2 separate regions of the Homo sapiens genome follow, and region 2 is linked to region 1. The links are contacts of gene promoters, found by promoter capture Hi-C in blood cells and fetal thymus (Javierre and others, 2016). All regions are on one chromosome and are shown on one strand. The core of a region is centred on a gene start or on the middle of the fragment in contact, and the rest is flanking DNA. Distances in the headings are between cores, read along the strand shown.

The links. The method cuts DNA at HindIII sites, captures the fragments that hold promoters and counts their contacts. A CHiCAGO score of 5 or more calls a contact.
Region 2: the fragment with the promoter of RNF40 here is called in contact with the fragment with the promoter of ATP2A1-AS1 in region 1 in 1 of 17 cell types (total CD8 T cells); the score reaches 8.2 in total CD8 T cells.

What each region holds. Positions count from the first base shown.
Region 1 is chr16:28,876,798-28,883,990 of GRCh38, forward strand. It overlaps ATP2A1-AS1 (ATP2A1 antisense RNA 1), which reads right to left and starts at 3,124. Exons shown (of 2, transcript NR_046290.1): 1 at 2,745-3,124; 2 at 2,160-2,307. It overlaps ATP2A1 (ATPase sarcoplasmic/endoplasmic reticulum Ca2+ transporting 1), which reads left to right and starts at 1,691. Exons shown (of 23, transcript NM_004320.6): 1 at 1,691-1,992; 2 at 2,302-2,319; 3 at 2,704-2,786; 4 at 4,118-4,222; 5 at 5,654-5,792. The coding sequence starts at 1,875. RefSeq lists enhancers at 662-731, 742-831, 2,077-2,850, 6,374-7,183 and silencers at 2,921-2,970, 2,991-3,340. The HindIII fragment of the contact is 3,157 bases long and covers 2,987-6,143 here.
Region 2 is chr16:30,759,935-30,767,127 of GRCh38, forward strand. RNF40 (ring finger protein 40) reads left to right here and starts at 2,388. Exons shown (of 20, transcript NM_014771.4): 1 at 2,388-2,426; 2 at 2,541-2,743; 3 at 3,184-3,351; 4 at 3,484-3,625; 5 at 4,245-4,451; 6 at 5,004-5,125; 7 at 5,247-5,393; 8 at 5,491-5,565; 9 at 6,229-6,348; 10 at 6,445-6,624; 11 at 6,807-6,942. The coding sequence starts at 2,612. PHKG2 (phosphorylase kinase catalytic subunit gamma 2) reads left to right here. Exons shown (of 10, transcript NM_000294.3): 10 at 1-1,242. It overlaps CFAP119 (cilia and flagella associated protein 119), which reads right to left and starts at 2,128. Exons shown (of 9, transcript NM_001014979.3): 1 at 1,611-2,128; 2 at 1,264-1,295; 3 at 672-734; 4 at 350-519. The coding sequence starts at 1,814. RefSeq lists enhancers at 53-1,252, 1,217-1,366, 1,957-2,136, 2,092-2,729, 2,217-2,476 and 3 more and a silencer at 1,451-1,680. The HindIII fragment of the contact is 4,015 bases long and covers 11-4,025 here.

The DNA.
Region 1 (7,193 bases), core at 1,874-4,373:
CCAAAAGTGGGGGCCTCCCTTTTCTTTGCTCTGCTGTCTCCTATTCTGTCCTCTGCTTCGGAGTTTGAGCCCCAGAATGGAAAGCAGCCTTAAGAAGCCACACTTAGGAAGTCCACATGCCTCTGCTCATTTCAGGAAACAGGCCTAGACAGAGGACGGACTTGAGCCCAGGGCACCAGGCCCCTTCCCCTCACTGACCTTTCACCCTGACTCTCATCCAGCCTTTCTGCCTGCCTGTCCTCCCCTTCCTGCACCCCTGGTACCCTCCCTCGGCTCCTCCAGCAGCTGCCCTGGTGGTAACCAAGAGACGCCCCCATCCTGGAGCAGGGGTGGGGAGGGGCAGCTCAGAGCAGCTGCTTCTCTGAGGAAGCTGACACCAAGGCCAGCATTCAGCAACAACTTGTGGCTTTGCACCCAGCGCCGGGGTCCCCGCCCACCTGGCTCCCTGCTGTCCCTCTTCCCCACTGCTGCTCGGACTTCCCTCTGACCCTGGTGGCTCTGTGTCTCTGCTCCCTTTCCCCCTAGGTCTAGACATCTGTCCTTATTTCCCCCAGACCTGTCCCCAGAAGTCCACCCTTCCCCATTCCTTTGGTCTGGAGCCCCTGCTTGGTCCAGCTTCCCCAGGCCCCGACACCTTTCTGTGGGGTCTGCCTAGCTCCTGCACGCACACAGCATGGGCCTGATCCTGTTCCCCTCGTGGACAGATGCAGCAGGGCAGAGTGCAGCGCAGACCACAGGCCTCTGGGGCTGGCCACAGAAACCCCGTTGGTTAGAGCACAGTGTGGGATGAGGTGACCCTCAGTGCACGACTTGGGGTGACCCCTGCCCCCATCCTGAGACAGTTACCCCTCCCCCTCTGCCATCAGCACATTCTGTAGCCTCTTGGGTTACTTGGCTGCCTTGGTGTCCCATTTTCTTGGGGGTGGGGTGGGGATTCCCTATCCAGGATGGGGGGGCCCTCAGGGCTCTGTTCCCAGAGGCTGAGTTAGAGCGATGGGGAAGGGGGGGGGCAGTTTTGGGGAGAGACAGGCAGTGCTGGCTTTGCTCACCAGGGCCTGGACACTAAATCCCTTGTTGATGGCTGTGGCAACCCCTCCCTAGGGTAGGGTTACCATCTTCGGCCCTGTCCCCTTGACTCTCTCCCCTCACTTCCCCTTGTCCCTCTAGGAGCCACTCACTTCCTCTAGCCCCCAAAAGATGTTCTCCCTTCATCAGTCCCCCAAAGGCTTGGGGTATCTCTGCCACTGCTTCAGCAAATGGGGTGAGGAGGAAGGAGACTGCGGCAATGGAAACAGGCTCCGGGCAGATGAGGCAGGAAGGGGGGTGTGAGGAAAGGGACAGGTGAGGCCGGGGATGGAAGAGGGCTCCGGGAAGAACTGGGGGGATGAGTTTGGAATGGGAAATTCAATGCAGCTGGGGAAGTCGAGGCAATGGGGGGGCAGGGTCAGTAGCAGATGACAGAAAGTGAAGTCTCTCCCTACCCCACTTCCCTGGGGCTGGGGCTACCTTTGCGTCCCTCATGAGTGACATCTCAGGCTGCAGCCCCACTGTTCCCCCTCTGTCAGCAGAAATATCTCTCTTTTCTGACCACCTCCTGCTGGAGTCTCAGCCAGCCAATCCCTGATCTGGTGGAGGGGGGAGCCCGGCCTCCCCCTGCTCCCTCATAAGGACCAGCTGGGGGCCGGGGGGTGGCCGGCTGCTCAAGTGGGACGGGGGTCAGAGCTTTGTGGAGGGAAGAAAAACCTGGAGGGGGCAGGAGAGTAAAAAGAAGAAACCCAGGCAGACAGGCAGTTGGACACACTGAGGAAGACCCCCCACGAGTGGGAACCCCCTGGAAGGAACACACCGGCCCCGGCCCCCAGGAAGGGAGCACAATGGAGGCCGCTCATGCTAAAACCACGGAGGAATGTTTGGCCTATTTTGGGGTGAGTGAGACCACGGGCCTCACCCCGGACCAAGTTAAGCGGAATCTGGAGAAATACGGCCTCAATGGTAAGTGTCCCTTGGAAGAGCGGCTGGTAATTAATGCCCTCCTGCACCCCCAAAACACACGCACACGCATGCACGCGTTTCTCCCTTCAGGGTTTCTTAAGGAAGAGCTGGGCCGTTGTCCAATGCTCGCAGGGGGAAGAAGATACTGAGAAAACAGAGTCCCGAGATCCAGAGTTTTGGGAGGTTTTAATGGGATGAACTTGATGAACCTCAAGGTGGCCTGATTCTCTTAGCCACAAAGTCTTGGGTGTGGGGGGCATGAGGCTGAACCCCAAATGAATCTGTCCTTTTCTTCTTTTTCCTGGGTAGAGCTCCCTGCTGAGGAAGGTAAGTTACTGGAATCCCTGAACTCTCATAAATGACCACCCCCCACCCCGCCCTGTCCCACTCCCTCCTCCCTGCCTCTTTAGATTCTTTGAGCAAATATCCCTTCCCAAAAGGCAAATCTCCCTCCCTAAAGGTTAGAGTCCTGTCCGGGGCAGAAGTCTCCCAGGCGCTTTCTCCTTGAAGCAGCCAACCCTTGAACTGCCCCCCACTTTGCCGAGTCTGTTTCTGGACTCCAGGCGAGCTTCTTAGCCCTTCTCTGGGCACCAAGCTGTCTGCCCACCACCCTAGAGCCTCCCCACTGCAGGCCGGAGTCCAGGGCGCTCCATCCCAGACCTTCACCCACTAGACCTTAACCCGGGGCCCTCCCCTTGCCTCCTCCCCCAGGGAAGACCCTGTGGGAGCTGGTGATAGAGCAGTTTGAAGACCTCCTGGTGCGGATTCTCCTCCTGGCCGCATGCATTTCCTTCGTAAGTGTGGGAGGGTCTCTGGGGGCTGGCTGGGGGTGTGAGGCTGGGATCGGGCGAATGCGGGGCTCGCAGTCACTGGATCCTCCCGTCCGAGTCCCGAGCATCCCATTGTACAGACGGGGCGGGCTGGCGCGCAGCAGCGGGTGTGATTCGCGTCCTCCTCTCTCCTCCCCTGCACCCCAGAGGCAGGTTTTATTTTAAGCTTTAAGGGTGTTCTCAGCCAAAACACCGAAGCTAAGCCACCCTCGCGGCTTCAAGAGCTTGGAGAGCTCGGGTTACCCACCCGAACTCCGGGCTCCGGGTCCCGCCGCGATGCCGGCTGCGGCGCGGGGGGCCACTGCCACTCCCGGCATGCGCCGGGCGGACGGCCGCTCCACCAATCCCCGCGCCCGTCGGCGCCCCTGCCCCGCCCTCCCCAGCCTCCTGACGCTGATTGGTCGAGGGGAGGACTCGCTCCTAGTGGCGGGAAAGCGCGGCGGTGTGATGATGACTCCAAGGAGCCCGGCGCCCGGTCAGGGAGGGCACTGGCATCCCTCATTACCCGCCCAGCCTGGCCTTAGCCCTTCCCCGCGCTCCCTAGGCACCCCCACCCCCGCAGGGCATCTCCAGGGCTCTGCCTCCTCTCCCGCCCTGGGGGCTACTCCCCATCCCGCGGTCCATCTGCATGTCGCGGGTTCTTCCGCAGCATGTGAGCCTCGCTGGGGACTCTGGAGGCAACGAAAGCCTCCCTGTGCCTTGGTCTCCGAACGCAGGCCCCGTCGCGTTAAGCACAAGCTGGCAGGGCCTCTCCTCTCCCTTCTCAGATTTGCTCCTTGACATTTGCCTGCTGCCTGGCGGTGGCAACAGCTGGGGCGGGGCGCGCGCAGGAGGCCCCGTAACCCTATCCCCGCTCCGGCTCCCTCGTGAAACCGGAGCTTCCCTGCCTTGGCCGAGGGGGAGGGCTGCGGGGGCCAGACCGCCTGCGAAGACCACAGGGTTTTTCCTCTCGGGTTTTGGCTCCCGTGGGATGGATGTGGCTGTGCGGGGGGTTGGCCTGAGCTTCGCTTCTAAGCCAGCAGCTTGGTCAGGGAAACCTGAAAGCATTCCCAGCTAATCCCCCAAGTGGTGCAAGTCTGTGCGCGCCCATCCCGCTGAGTAAGGCGGTGGCAGGACCTGCAGTGGATGGACAGACCCTCAGACGGATGTGGGGCCACAGCGCCCCGACGGTGCCCGGCCCTCCTGCTGGCTCCTGCACTCTCCTGCACAGTTCTCCCCTTTGCAGTGGTCCACTTCCTTTCTCCATCTGTTTTGGGGCCTCATTACCTGTCATTCTCCTTTCCCCTGCTCCCCAGGTGCTGGCCTGGTTTGAGGAAGGTGAAGAGACCATCACTGCCTTTGTTGAACCCTTTGTCATCCTCTTGATCCTCATTGCCAATGCCATCGTGGGGGTTTGGCAGGTTAGCGTTGACCCTTCCTTACCCCTTCATGTCCCAACAGTGAAGAAGAGGCCAACCCTCCCTCCAGTCTCCTCCTCCTCCATCACCTCCCCCATACTTGCCTCTTCCTCTGGTCCTATCCCCTGGTCTGGAATGGGATGGAGTGTGGGGAAGAGGTGGGAGACTGTGACCCACTGTCACTTCCTGGCTATGTGACCCTGAGCAAGTTCCTTCATCCCTCTGAGCCTCAGTTTCTTCATCCATAAAATGGGGCTAGCAATCCAGTGTGAAATCGACTAAGATGATGCATGTTCCTGGCACACAGTAGGAATTCAATAGACGCTAGCTTGATTTCCTTCTTCCACTGACCTGACCACCCCCTACATGTCCTGTCCTCTGCTTCCTGGTTTGTTTTGTTTTGTTTTGTTTTTAGGTCATTTCCAAAGTGAAAACCCAAATGCTACCTTGCTTTGGTTTTAAGAAATGTCAGGCTATAAGCCATTTTTTGGTGCTCACTGGTTTCTGAACACTGAGGATAGAAATAGCCACTTTCATACTTTGGGAGGCCGAGGCGGGTGGATCAGTTGAGGTCAGGAGTTCAAGAGTAGCCTGGCCAACATGGTAAAACCCCATCTCTACTAAAAATACAAAAAAATTAGCTGGGCATGGTGGCAGGTGCCTGTAATCCCAGCTACTCAGGAGGCTGAGGCAGGAGAATCACTTGAATGGGGAGGCGGAGGTTGCAGTGAGCCAAGATTGCACAATTGCACTCCAGCATGGGCAACAGAGTGAGACCCAGTCTCAAAAAAAAAAAAAAGAGAGAAATAGCACTTTCTCTTTGCCCCAGTGTTACAGGCGCAGCAGAGCCACCTGTGTCTGTGGTGCTGACAGGTCCAGGACAGCATCTGCAGGGCAGCCTCTGATTTTCTTTGATTTTTTATTTAGATTTTTCTTTTTGAGACAGGGTCTCGTTCTCTTGCCCAGGCTGGAGTGCAGTGGCGTAATCTCATCTCACTGCAATCTCTGCCTCCAGGTTCTGGTGATTCTCGTGCCTCAGCCTCCCAAGTAGCTGGGATTACAGGCGCGTGCTACTACGCCCGGCTTTTTTTTTTTTTTTTTTTTTTTTTTGTACTTTTCGTAGAGACGGACGGGGTTTCACCATGTTGTCCAGGCTGGTCTCGAACTCCTGACTTCAAGTGATCCGCCTGCCTCAGCCTCCCAGAGTGCTGGGATTACAGGCGTGAGTCACCATGCCCGGCCTGATTTTCTTTGATTCTTCTTTGTTCCCTCCCCAAAACCCTCTCACCTGTTTTCACCTGTAGGTGACAGTTTCCTCAACATACACACACCCCTGCCTGTGTGGGGTTTTGTTGCCTCCCCCGTGCCAGGAGCCACAACTCCATAACTCTGCCTCCTGTGTATAACCCTGCCTCCTCCACCCTGTCTCCTCAGGAGCGGAACGCAGAGAACGCCATCGAGGCCCTGAAGGAGTATGAGCCAGAGATGGGGAAGGTCTACCGGGCTGACCGCAAGTCAGTGCAAAGGATCAAGGCTCGGGACATCGTCCCTGGGGACATCGTGGAGGTGGCTGGTGAGTGACAGGGACGGCTGGTCCAGGATGGGAGGCCTTGGGGCTGAGGCCTAGGAGATGCCGGGGGCTGGTCAGGCTCGGATCCAGGTGTCCAGGAGGATGACGGAGTCTGCTTCTCTTTCCGACTCCTCAGAAGGTCATCCCAGGCCACTCCGGCCACATCCCCCCCTCCCCAGCGGAGTCTCAGCAGGAACAGCCAGTCCTGTCCCTGAGGCTGCAGGCAGACCCCCTGCTCCCCATCCTCTCACCCTGCACTTGCACTCGCAGGCAACAGGTGGAACCCGGTCCCTGCCAATGGCCCCGTCTCCACCCCCTCCCGGGCCTGGCTTCCCCCTCCTTCCACCCACCCCAAGCTTGGTCAGCTTTCAGTCTTGACCTCTCTGTGCCCTTGAGGCCTCTCAAAGGGGAAGGAGCGAGGGCAGAAGGGAGGAGGGAGGCCGAAGGCTCGAGCCCCCGACCATGTAAGGGAAACTCAGGCCTGGCACAGAGCACGCGACCGGGGAGGAGGGAGCTCAAGGAGGGCCCCGCCCGCGGCAAGGGACACTTAATGCCTGGCCAGGGAGGGGTGGGGGCCGGGTGGCTAAGATTACTGGGATTCTGCCCCCTTCAGCGGTTTTTATGTTTGCCCTGAGCAGGCCTTCCCGAAGCTCCAGGCCCCTGCCAGGGGGAATGGCTCTTCAGAGGCCTCCTTCCCTGTAGCAGACATCCGAATCACCACCCCAGGGAGCTTGGGCAGAGGGAGTGAGGGCAGGCTGAAGACCCCAGCGCCCCATCACAGGGCAGCCTTGCCGCCGTGACAGCATGGAGTCAGCGCCATGAATGTCTATAAATATCACGCGGGCTTGGGTGACAGGGTGTCCCGCCCGACTCTATCCCGACCTCCCTCCTCCCTCCTCGGTCCATTTCCTCTGGCACAGGAGGGATCCTTAGAAACAGAGGGAAAGGAAAGCGATTGGACCCTGTCCCCAGTACCATCCGTGGGACCAGTGCGGAATTAGGCAGCGGCCCTGGGAGATTCTTAGCCTCCTCCTAAGGTCTCTGAGTCTGGCTGGGCATCCACCTCTCCAGCCCCCCGACAAGGTGGTTTCCATGGCCTGCCAGCCCACCTGTGCGTCTCCCTGGCCTCACCTCCACCCATTCACTCTCCAGCCTGTGCTGCCCGCCCCACTCTTCCACACCTGTTTCCTGCCCAACCCCCGCTTCTCTCCTGTCCCATCCCATCCTGTCTTGTCCATGTCCCCAGCTCACTCTCCCTGGCTCCCCGCCTCCCTGCCTCCCTGAGATGCTCAGACCGGGCTGTCAGGTTCCCGATATGTGGTCCTCTCCATGACCACCCTGTGCCCCCCGCTGCCTTGAGTCCTGCCCACTCATACCTTCCGCTCACTCCTCTCCTGCCTTGCC
Region 2 (7,193 bases), core at 1,138-3,637, 1.9 Mb after region 1:
GCCCTTACGAAGCTTATATTCTAGGGGAATAAACCAAGAAATAGATCATTTCAGCTATTAAACATTCTGAAGCAAGAGCTATTAAACATTCTAAAGCAGGTGTTATTGTGCACTATGCATATATTTGCATATATTATTTCTCAGAACAGTCCTGTAAAATGTGTGCTGTATCCTTAATTTCTAGATAAGGAAGCAGTGGATTGGAAAGCTGATGGCTTGTGTATGATGATGCTACTAATAATGACATATTCCAGGCAGAAATCCCCTGCTTCTGCTTCCCATGGTCACTTGTGCCAGGCCCGGTTCCTCTTCTCCCTGGGGCTCAAACCTGGTAGCTGCCCCCTCTCACCAATACAAGCCTTGTGAAGATCCTGGAGCAGGGCACAAGCCGCTGACGTCTGCTCCAGTGAGAAGCCCTGCTGGCGGCAGAAAATGAGCGCGTGGCAGAAGAGGTCCAGGGTGATGGCGTCCCTCAGGCTCTGCTCAGGACACCCTAGCTCCAGCAGCTCAGCCAGCACCCTTGGGAGGGAGAGAGGAGTGAGTGACAACTGGGCCTCCTTTCATCACCCTACACCCACCACATGCTTTGGAGTCAGCCATTCCTCATGTTTTCCCAACCTGACCCCTCAGCCTTTGCCAAGAGCTCTTCCCACGCCCCCCTCAGTCCCTACTCCCTCATCTCAGCATTGGTGGTCTTCTCCAGCTGGTGCATGGAATGGACGTCCAGGTACTTCCTGTTATAGTAAAAGAAAAAGAGTATTGGTGGCCGTTACCTATCATGACAAGGCTGTGACAGCTAGTGCGTGAGACTGGGAGTTGGCCACCGGCGTGAAGCTGGGCTCTTTTGCCAGCTTGCTGTGTGACTATGCAAATCGTTAACTCTCTGGGCCTAAATGAACTCTTATGAGCCTCTCCATTTCTAAAGCCTAGGGTTAGGAATCTTGAATTCTTTTTTCTGCTCTGCCACTACCTTGTATGACCTTGGTCAAGTACTCCCTGTGGCCCTCAGTGTCCCCCTCTGTACAATACTCCTTAGCGGCCATGAGACTCCATTTACATTCTGTCTTTGGCTCTTTTTTTCTCACACTGCCTCCTCTTTGGACTGGAGAGGCTGGAAAGCCAACTTCCAGTCACCTGGAGTAATTGCATCTCCAGGCCTCAGTCTCATCTGTAAAATGGGGATGCCCTGGCCACAGACAGGACTGTTGGGGAGACAATAAAGAACGCAAATATTCAGTGTAATTTTTGTCTCTTCACACTCACCACATGCAGATCCGGGGTCGGGGCAGCGGCGGCTGCGGAAAGAAAGCGAATTGGGGAAGGCAGCTGCGGTGTCCTGGCCCGTAGCGAATCTCCAGCAGGCCGGAGAAGCCGCTGTAACTTGCCATCTCATCTCAAGGACTAAGGAGAGGCGCGGGCGAGGGAGGGCTTCAGCAGGCCCTAGGTGCTCTACGCGAGCACAGTAACCACCGGGGTCACACACCCCTGCCTCTCCTCGCCCAAGCAGCCCGGGAGACGTCCCGAACGTTAGTAAGCATAATGACAGGTGGCGCCTGCGGGGGAGCCGGTTTATAAATATTCACGAGCAGACCAGACTGTCCCGCCCTCACCGGAAACAAGTTGGCTCCGGGGTCTTCATCCGCTTTCGCCGCCGCCGCCGTCGTCCACTGAGTCCGCACACTCGCACGCGTCCGCGCGGCCGACCCATGCACTGAGCTGCGATCCTTCCCCGCTTCCCGCCGCAGCTCGGAGAGATGTTCAAGCTCCGACTGCACCCTCATTCCCAAAAAGTGGCTGGTCTTGCGGTTGAGCATCTCGCCGCTCTTCCGTGCCGCGAGGCGCCCCGGGCTCCCGCCGCCTAGGTTCCAGGACAGCCAGCGCTCGGTCGGCGGCTACCAAGGCCGGGCCCGTTCGCCTCGCTCCGGCCAATCTACGCGCGGAGAGGCGCGGCGGGGCGAATCCGTGGGGGCGTCTCCCTCCGTCTCAACGGCGACGGTTGCCAAGGGGGCTTGTGAGGGAAGGAAGGCGGAAAGCGCAGGCTCACGCCAGTGGGAGCGAAGAGAACGCGCAGATACGTGAGAAGTTGCGAGTGCCCACCTGGGCGCCCTCTCTTCCAGGTTGCTAATACGAGGGCCGGTGCTGTCCTCCAGGCTGGGAAGTGGGAGCGCGGTGTCAGTTACTATGGGAACTGCCTCTTGGCCAATCACCGAGAGAAAGAGGAGGTGTTTGGGAAGAAGCCAGAGGACCCGAGTGGCGGGACCAAGCGTAACCAATAGAAGCAGAAGATAAAGAAGTTTCCTCACATCCGGGGCTGCCTTTGGCGCCTGCGCCCTGCGCACCGTTGGGGGGGGGGCAGTGGCGTCCAGTGACGCCCAGTGACGTCCGGTGAAATCCAAGATGGCGGCGCTAGGCTGACCCTCCTGCTGGTGAGGGCTCTGGCGCCGGGGGGGACGGGATCCAGCAGGTGTGTGCAGGGTGGAGGGTGTTTGGGGCTGTGGAACACCAGCCGTTCCCACATCTCTGCTCTGTGTCTTCTGCAGGTGACGGAAGTACCGCCTCCTCCCGTTTGACGCCCCTCAGGGGACCCTGCATCGCTCCAGCCGCCGCGGCCATGTCTGGGCCAGGCAACAAACGCGCCGCCGGCGACGGGGGCTCAGGGCCCCCGGAAAAGAAGCTGAGTCGTGAGGAGAAGACCACCACGACTCTTATCGAGCCCATTCGTCTTGGAGGCATCTCTTCCACGGTTCGTGGGCTCTTGCCTTAACCCTCAGAACTTCCCAGAGCCCTCCCTCTGTTCTCTGGCCAAACTGTGCGGAATCTTACACCCACTTCCCCAAGTTTAGCAAGGTCCGCGTTACAGGACCTTGAAAGAAAGGTTAGAAAGAAGCTCAGAACACGACGCCTGTCTTCCCTTTACAGATAGGAAAACAGGTTTCCAGGGGGCGTGTGACTTGTCAAAGACTAAGGATTTACAAGGGGACAGGCAGAAACAACGTGAGCCTCCTCACAACAAAGACACTTTCGCTGTGTGTTGTCTGAGCCTCCTTAGATTCTGTTAGCGGTTAGTGTGGGAATACCTCCATCTCCCATGCATTGCAGATGCTCTGCTCCTCTTTCTCTCTCTGTGATTGGTTTGTGGGCCCTGCTTGACGCTCTCGTCGGCCCCTTTGTTTCCTTTGGTAGGAGGAGATGGACCTGAAGGTACTACAGTTCAAGAACAAGAAACTGGCAGAGCGGCTGGAACAACGGCAGGCTTGTGAAGATGAACTCCGAGAACGAATTGAGAAGTTGGAGAAGCGGCAGGCCACAGATGATGCCACACTCCTCATCGTCAATCGCTACTGGGCCCAGGTGGATACCTTCTGCTTTCAAAGACCAGGCCTTGATTCAGCTGCCAATCCCCAGATTCCCCTGCTAGGAAAGGAGTATCATGTTGGAAAGCACTAAGGGATTCATAACATTTTTGATGTTTTCTCCTTCCAGCTGGATGAAACTGTGGAAGCCCTTCTCCGATGCCATGAGAGCCAGGGGGAGCTGTCTTCAGCGCCTGAGGCACCTGGGACCCAGGAGGGGCCAACATGTGATGGGACTCCTCTCCCAGAGCCGGGGACATCAGAGCTGAGAGGTAGGACCAGAGTGCTGGGATCTGGGGAGCTTAAGTTCTGGGAGAAGTCCTGGGGAGGAGGGGACTTTGGTGTTGGGCCCCTGAATTGCCTATCTTACTACTTCTCACGAAATGGATTTCATGTTTGGGCAGTAAAGTGCAGTGCACAAAAACACAGGCTTTAGACTCTGACTAACTTGGTTTATAGAGCAATTCATGTTTTGACACCCATTTGTTTCAAAACAGTATTATGGTTGAGTATTAAATATGTATTTGACGCTTCCTAGAAATGAGTGTTGCACTTGCTATAAGGGAGGAAATTATAAACATAGTAAGCAGAAAGTACTGGGGCTCCTGAAACGGAATGATTGTGTGTGCATGCATGTGCGTGTGATTCTAATTATATTGGTAAAGTACAGGAAGCTTCCCTGAGGATGTGATACGCAACTCTGTAGCTTTGAGGAAATTACTTTACCTCCCTGAATTTCATTTGTCTCACTTTCAGGATGGAGATAATAGTGCACTATAGGTTGTGTTGATTAAGTGAACCATGAGTATTGAAGGGCTCAGTCTGGAACTTGGTACAGAGTGGTAGTAACTGCTGCTCTTATCCTCATGAGGGTCTGTCCATTCCTTCCAGACCCCTTGCTGATGCAGCTGCGGCCCCCTCTCAGTGAGCCGGCCTTGGCTTTTGTGGTGGCACTGGGTGCCAGCAGCAGTGAGGAGGTGGAGCTGGAGCTGCAAGGCCGAATGGAGTTCTCCAAGGCAGCTGTGTCTCGTGTGGTAGAGGCCTCAGACCGCCTACAGCGCCGGGTGGAGGAACTCTGTCAGCGAGTGTACAGCCGAGGTGGGTTCTTTGTGCCCATACTGAAGGGGTGTCCATCCCCACCTGCATCTTGATGGCACCCCTTCCTGATTCCCCTAATGCCCGAGTCCAAGGGCGGCCAGAATTTCCCAAGGAATAAATCAGCCATGTTCTTGGAAGAGGTAGGTTAGGCTGTAGATGGGGGTTCCAACTTTGATTCCGGGATTGAATGCTAGAGAGATGGGTTGGAGGAGTTGTTGATGCCGGTAGAGGCTCCTGGCCAGAGGCCCCTCTGGAGCACTTGGTGTGGGTTGCGGATCCACAAGGCATAGCTTCAAGGGCTCAGGCCTTGTAGGTTGACAGGCTTCTCCCACCTTAGTTCTGCCACCCTCACCTGGACATGCTGGGAAAGTGGCTCCCCTCTCTGAGCTGGTTTCCTTCTCTGTGCAGTGGGGATAAAGACTCCTGGCTTTGTCATGAGAAATGGGCAAGACAGCTGGTGGATCACACTGGGTATATAGCAGACTCCAGAATGAGTTAGTTGTTTGCCCCATTGCCCTGAGCTGGGCTCTTACCTGGGCCCTGCCTTCCCAGGGGACAGTGAGCCCCTCAGTGAGGCGGCTCAGGCACACACCCGAGAGCTGGGCCGTGAGAACCGGCGACTGCAGGACTTGGCCACTCAGCTGCAGGAGAAACACCACCGCATCTCATTGGAGGTGAGGAGCCGGGGGCTTTGGGGGTGTGATTAGAATCAGGCAGGATTTGGGTTAGATGGGCACTCAGGGACCTCAGGAACCAAGTCCCCCATCCAAGCATCTGCTCCCTCATTGTTCCCAGTACTCCGAGCTCCAGGATAAAGTGACATCGGCAGAGACCAAGGTGCTGGAGATGGAGACAACAGTGGAGGACTTGCAGTGGGACATCGAGAAGCTGCGGAAGCGAGAGCAAAAGCTCAATAAGCACCTGGCAGAGGCCTTAGAGCAGGTGGGGCAGGGGTGCTGGGGCAGGTGAGGCAAGGCTGGGCCCTTGGGCCTTAGCTCCTCCCCTCTACATCCATTGCCTGTCTGTTTTCTCTCCACAGCTTAACTCTGGCTACTATGTATCTGGGAGCTCCTCAGGCTTCCAGGGGGGCCAGATCACACTCAGCATGCAGAAGGTGAGCGGCGTTTTCCTCCCACCCCTTCTCACAACCTCTTCTCTGTTGCACTCTTGAAATTCCCCTCAGGACAAAGGACAAACATCCATCTCTGAGGCCCTTCCTGGTCACTCCTGCTGCTCTTTTTTTCATGCATTCATATACTTGTTGAGTAGATTTTTGAACACTTAGTGCTAGGCACTAGGCATATTGGCGAGAACAAAATAGAGGTCAAAACTTTCATGGACCAGACAAGAAATAAATAAAAGAATATATCTTTAGGTTCTACTTGTGGTAACAGACAAGAAATCAGTAAAATAGCATATCAGTGTGTTATGAGTACCACAAAGATAAAGCACAGAAGAGAGAGCTAAGAGTGAGTTGGAGTCAGTTGGCATCTGGTGGTCACTGTGCCCTTTTTCCCTTTATTAGCACTTTAGGCCTTTCTGGAATGCCTTCCGTGACTCCCCATCAGTTAAGAGCCTTAGTTCCCAGCACCGACCATGCAGTATTGAATTTTCTCCCATTTTTCTGGGAGCCCTTAGGAAAGTACTTGGTTTGGGGTGTCAGAATCGATCATTGCCCTGCACGGGGTGCTTGGGGTGGAGTGTATGCTGGGGATGTAAGGGAGGCCTGCTGCCACGTCTGGCCCTGCCTCCCATGGCCCTGCCTCCCACTCCTTAGTTTGAGATGCTGAATGCAGAGTTAGAGGAAAACCAGGAACTGGCCAACAGCCGTATGGCAGAGCTGGAGAAACTGCAGGCCGAACTTCAGGGGGCTGTGCGGACCAATGAGCGCCTCAAGGTGGGCTGCTGTAGGGGCTGAGAGGTCCTGGGCCTGTAAGGGAGGGACTGAGCCCTGAATCCTGTTGCTGATCCCATTTGGGCATCCCTGCCCCAGGTGGCCCTGCGGAGCCTTCCTGAGGAGGTAGTGCGGGAGACGGGGGAGTACCGCATGCTGCAGGCCCAATTCTCACTGCTCTACAACGAGTCTCTGCAAGTGAAGACCCAGCTAGACGAGGCTCGGGGCCTGCTGCTGGCCACAAAGAACTCCCACCTGCGACACATCGAGCACATGGAGGTATGGCCCTGGAACAGGCGTTAGGGCTGGGCTAAGGGCCAAACCGTTAGTGTTGACGTGTTTGTGCCTTCCGAGGCCCTGTGTGCCAGCCAGGGGTCCCTGGGGAATAGATTCTTCCTAAGATACTGAGTCCTGAGGTGGGACCGAGGGGCTGTGTGGGTCCTTAACACATCAACCCACAGAGCGACGAGCTGGGGCTGCAGAAGAAGCTACGCACAGAGGTCATTCAGCTGGAGGACACGCTGGCCCAGGTACGCAAGGAGTATGAGATGCTGCGCATCGAGTTTGAGCAGAATCTGGCGGCCAACGAGCAGGCGGGTATGTGGTGAGGATAGGGCGGAGGTGGGGCCTTATCTGGGAGTGCTGGGCCCTGGTGTGGGGCTGCTGCTTATCCAGATGCAAGAGGCTAAGGCCTTTTTTTTCACAGAGCCTCGGCTTCCTATGCAAAACAGGGCCTGCACTGCTTGGCTCCCAGGCACAGTGAGGGTCCGCCAGCTGGGGTGGCTGATGGAGCAGGCACATGCAGAGTCTGAGCTGTCAGCCCTGTCCTCATTCTTCTGGTCTGATGA